2 separate regions of the Homo sapiens genome follow, and region 1 is linked to region 2. The links are contacts of gene promoters, found by promoter capture Hi-C in human tissues and cell types (Jung and others, 2019). All regions are on one chromosome and are shown on one strand. The core of a region is centred on a gene start or on the middle of the fragment in contact, and the rest is flanking DNA. Distances in the headings are between cores, read along the strand shown. Region 1 has its middle 16 kb from the start of LMX1A. Region 2 holds the start of LRRC52 (leucine rich repeat containing 52).

Region 1 (2,700 bases), core at 18-2,517, 170 kb after region 2:
CCCTGCTGGTGACTGACAGCCAGAAAGGGGAGAGATGAGGCCACTCCTCCCTCCCAGGTGGACAAGTCTGGCGACAGACAGGCACAAAGCTGAATCGGGTGAATCTTTAGAGTAAGTCAATTTGCTAAATGTAAATATCACCTTTTAAATAACACAAACTTGGAATAAGCCATTAAAATATTTTTAAACTTTAAAACGCACAGGGAATCAGCTCCTGTCAAAACCAAAATCTATATGTTTCTTTTTATTAAAGAAAGATGTTCTGCTTTCTAATGGTAATACAAGGGTATTAAAAATATATGTTCACAGAAAAAGTAAATGGAAGGGAAAAATTTACTCTAAGTTCTACTCCTGAAAATTTAACCATTGTTCACTTTGTGTGAATTACATAATATGCACAAGTATTAGAATGATGCAAAACCTCATGAACATGATCTTTAAACAAAGGCTGAATACAAGACTTCATTTAGCTTTGCCTTTTGGAGGTTGGAATAATTTGGGTGTCCCTGTGGAGGCAGCAGCCCTCCGGGGAACAAGGTCCATTCTCTCTGGTCTCTGCTAGGCCACCCGCACAGGAAAAGCAGGTACACCAAGTTCCGTTTCTTAAGGGCGCCGGCACTTGAAAAGGGAGCACAAATGTCTGGAAAATGTCAGTTCCCACATTTAGGTGCATATGGGCATCACAGGGTAATGAAGACTTTGAACATCCATGCCTGGAATTAACTCTGCTGGGGCCAGAGATGGTGGGAGGACACCCCGGAAGTCCTGGCCTGTGATTGGAGAGGGGAGTCCCTCCAGCACCCTGTGAAACAGATAAGGCCGAGCTGGGCTCCTGGAGCAGTTAGAGATACATTCTTACTACAGAAATGTGTCCTCCAAGATCTCATGCGTACATTTTAGGCTTGGGGTCTGCCTCAAGGCGGAAGTGCTGCTGGGACCTGTGGCATGTGTGAGTGAGAGGCTTGGCTTCCGTGAGGTACTTTGGGGCCACAGCCTCAGTTAGAAAAACAACTAAGATGGATTTGGGAATGGAAATAATTCTTGAGAGCTGCCTTACAAATTACTCAATGAAACCTGGAGGAAAAAATCAGTGTCAGGTAAGAATGTCCAACACACTGTGGACCGGACATGGCGTGGGCTAAGAGGGGTTCTTTCAGGGGCTTTTTAGGACATCTCCCAGGAATCACAGCCTGTGCATCCCATCCTGCTCTGCAGGAACAGCTTGGAAAGAGCTGCGGTAACCTAGGAAGTTTCACTTGTTCTGCTTACAGTTCCAGGCTGAGAGCTGACAGATTTCACATGTGAGCGGAAAAGGACCACTTGTCTGGCCCTAAACCTCCAAATTACCAGCCCGTCCCTGCCCCCCGTGACCCCAGAGCAGTGGAGAAACTCACCTTCATGTGTAGTTTCTGCTTGCACACCAGATAGCAGCAGCTATTGTCAAAGGATCGTGGATGGTCCAGATTTGAAAGAAAAATATGCACACGTACAAGCCCAGGGTCTACTGAATTCAGAACTGGTGATCATACAAAAATGTTCCAATTTGAAATCCATATTCGCACTGAAAAAAGAAAATAGTGCAAGCGAACAGTGAGAACAAAGTTATAGGGAGATTGCTTAAACTACTTGAGGCCAAGTAACATTCAAGGCATTTTAAAGTTATTCTTTGCAAAAAATAAATGGGCCGGTTATAACAATCCAAAAATTTAGCCCAGTCCTGCAATAATTTGAGTTGTCAACACATCTGGACTAGGAATTCTAGGCAAGTCATATTCTGGATACCTGGTTCGTGAAAATTCAAAGAAATTGAGCACTCTATAGTCTTCATAATCACTGTGGAGGTTTTATGGGGGAAGGCTGACTTACGGACTCCCTGGTTATCAAACGGACCAACACAACAGTGATACCGTAGAGTCACAGGGGAGTCCCAGAACTGAATACCTCTGCACTGGGCTTTCTATAGTTGGTGTATTTGACTTGTCTTCCCTCTTGGCCACTTCTATTCTCCATCATCATCTGCTTTGATTGACAGCATATTTCCAATCTAAGTTATAACTTCTACTTCTCTGGACATAGGCCATCGCTGTCCACCCGATTGTTCCTTGTTATTTGTTTTTATTTCCACCTTCATTATTGTATTCTCTGTACCTCCGTGTCATCATCTATAAAATGTGGACAATAATAGCACATACCTGATACCTGATATGGTTGTTATATAGATTATGTAAGTAATACATGTAAAGCAATTGGAATAGAGTCATGTACTAAGTGTTCAATAAATATTAGTTGTTAATGTTGTAGTTGTTATTATTACTGTTATTATTGTATCTGATTCCCCTTTTTTTTCTTTTTGACTTGGGTGCTGGTAAAGTTTTACTTGTATAGGCATTGAACAGTCAATGAGAGTAGCACTTTCTTTTGGTTAGCAAAATAACTGAATCTCAGCAGATTTCCCTTTTGGGGCTATTTTTGGCTACTTTCATTGCTGCTGATGCCTGAAGGACTTCCTGATTATTTCTGGGTTTGTGGCTTTTCTTGGCAGTTGAATTGAATTAAAGAGATATTAAGTGTCTGAGTGTTGAATAAGGAGGGTGCCCTGAATTTGAAAGTAATCAAAGTGTATTCTATTACAAAATTTAATAGTCTGGACTTTCCAGTAATTCACTTTTGCCTTATGTCCAATTAGCCTGAATTAGTGAG
Region 2 (2,700 bases), core at 197-2,696:
CCCTCCTTCCATCTTTATGTTAAACTTTCCTTTCTATATATCATAATCCTATATGAATGACTGAATTTACTTTTTGATCCTGGAAAAATTCAGTTGCTGAATTAAACAGATTAAAACAGTTTACCAACAGAATACAGTGTCCCTATATTACCTTGTCACTTTGCAATTAGAGTACTTCATCATTTCTACACACATCATATATTTGATGCAACTCTGTGCCTTAGGTAATATTATTGTCCCCACTTTATGGATTAGAAAACTGAGGCTCAGAGAAATGGTGACATTTTCAAGGGTAGCCAACTGGTAAGTGCTGAGTTTGGGACCAGAACTCAGCTCTTTGAATTCCTATTTCAGAACTTTTTCTTACTGCTACTCCAGTCAACCCAAGGGTGGGCCCTGCAGAGTAATAAGAATGCATTCAATCAGCTTCACCCAACTTTTTCTCCCATTCTGACCATCTTTTGAGTTCACCTTTTCTGGAGCCACTTCAATCACATCCTCTTCCCCACACCCAATCAAGCCCTCACCTGAGGGGTCCATATGGAACACTATTAAGAAGATGGCGAAGTCCAGGAAAGAGCAGTTGCACTTCCAGGGGTTTCCACTCAGAAACAGGGTCTCCAGAGTAGTGAGGTGGTATAAGGCAGCACTGTCCAGGGTCTGCAAGCCGGTATTTCTGAGGTCCAGGTACCTCAAAGAGGTGGTGTTGGCAAAGGTGAACTTGTGAAGCGATAACAGGTGAGGGTTGTTGGCAATGTTCAGCTGCACCAGGTTGCTGAGCACCGAGAAAGTGAATGGGGAGATCGAGGTTAGGTTGTTGGAGCTGAGGTCAAGGTAGATGAGTTTGAAGACCCCGATGAAGGTATAATCCATCACCTCTCGAATCCGGTTGTTCTGACAGTCCAAATAAACAAGGTCACTGAGGAGTCCTAGATGCATTGCTGGCAAACTAGTGATTCTGTTCTCGTTCAGGAACAGCCTCCGGGTGTTCAGGGGTATGTCAAGGGGGTATTCGGTTAACTGCTTCCCTGTGCAGATTACTTCTTGGGCTTGACACAGACAATTATTTGGACACTTTGACCCTGATACCAGCCCCATTCCAAAGGAAAAGAGTAACCACCCAGGGCCAGGGCCTGAAGCAAGGGACATAGTAAGAAGCCACAACCACCCTCCTTTCACCTTCCTGCGGGCTCTGTCCTCTGATCCGAAGGCTGCCGGTGGGGGGGTGGGGCGGGGGAGGGGCTCTGGAAAGAACTGTAACACTTTAGCTTTGTGCAAAGCAATTTTCCATTACAGGAGAACTGAACAGAAATTGAAACGCGAGGCTCAATGCCCTGCCGCCCAGCTTGGTGGCTCTGTCGCTCGCTCCCAGACTGCTGCTGGAAGCTTGCCCACTTGGCAGCTTTGAAAGGTCTCACCCTTTCCCTGCGTTTGCAAGTGAAGGGGAGCCAGGGGAGAGCCACATGACAATGAGGTTGCCAGTTGACACCTTTGTGATGTCAGCAGCCTCAGGAGACTGCCTGGCTGAGGGAAAGAGATTCCTCACCTCTCCTTCTGGGTGGTGTGAGGGTGTTTTATGTGTCTTGGTAAGCCAGCTGGAACTCCCTGGGGGAGTTGGGGCCTCATGGGTAGGGGCCTGCAGCATGTGTGTGTTGGAGACCAGGCTGGGTTCAGTGTGTGGATGTGTATAGTATCTGTACCCGCTCCCCATGGAGCTGTAGTAGATTAGGTGACATTGGACCCCCTAATCTGCAGGCCATAGAGGGAACATGGGACATCTCCAGGCCAACTCCTTTTCTTAGTGATGAGCAGTGACTTGCTTGAGGTCAGTTCTCAGTGTGGGTCTTTTCTTGGATATTGATTTGGATGGGTGCCAGTTTTTCAGTGTTGCCAGAAGAAGATGGGAAAGGGGGTGTTTCTTTTGAAATGAGGCAAGGGGAATTCCTCTGATAAAGTGGTACTCTTTTCAGACTTTATTCCTAGGATGTATACATCTCTGTCTGCATTTTGAATATATATATATGTGTATTTTTAAAAAGTTTTTGAATAAGTGTAAGCTACTCCTTCTAACACAAAACCCAAATGTATATATAAAAAATCTGAGTGCAACAATAGAAGTATTTTTTTACCACTCGTATTCTCCTAGGACTTTTAAAATAGTGAGTGCCTCTCTAGTACTTCTAGTGTGAGTTTATATTCATTAATTACTTGTCAGGTGATTAGTCTTTTGGAGCGAGGGATAGAAAACCTGGAAGCTGAAGAGTTGGGATGTATCACACACCCCGTGGAGGAAGGCATATCAGGCAGAAATAAGATAAAACATCTGAGGAGTTGAAACTTTTATTTTTGGGAAAATTGGATTTCATTTTTTAAAAACATTCATATATACTGAGTTGTGAATATTAGTAACATATTGAAACCTAAGCACAGTGCCTGGCACCTGGTATGTAATAAATGTATAGTGAATGAACAATGTGAGAATGTTTCTGATGGTTTGCTTCCTTCTCTTGCTTCTTTGCCAAGAGAGAAATTAATAAAGTCAGATGGATTTGTGGCTAGTTAGCTAATGCTTGATTGTTTACTTACTCAGCATTCCTTGGGTGACTGGCTGTGAATTAATATGATGACTTAGGCGTGTTTACCAAATTGAAAGTGACCTTATTTAAGTAGACATTTCAAATACTTAAAGTAATGACCCCA

Evidence for each region. The method cuts DNA at HindIII sites, captures the fragments that hold promoters and counts their contacts. A contact is called where the count stands out against the background at its distance.
Region 1: a contact is called between a fragment that was not itself captured here and the fragment with the promoter of LRRC52 in region 2, in 1 of the 25 tissues and cell types used here (pancreas).

The regions. Positions count from the first base shown.
Region 1 is chr1:165,371,855-165,374,554 of GRCh38, reverse strand. No RefSeq gene overlaps it. Among named protein-coding and RNA genes, the nearest start is that of LMX1A, 16 kb to the right of the region's middle. The HindIII fragment of the contact is 6,810 bases long and covers 1-2,700 here.
Region 2 is chr1:165,542,746-165,545,445 of GRCh38, reverse strand. LRRC52 (leucine rich repeat containing 52) reads right to left here and starts at 1,446. Exons shown (of 2, transcript NM_001005214.4): 1 at 528-1,446. The coding sequence starts at 1,149. The region is part of intron 3 of LRRC52-AS1 (LRRC52 antisense RNA 1); the gene reads left to right. The HindIII fragment of the contact is 8,196 bases long and covers 1-2,700 here.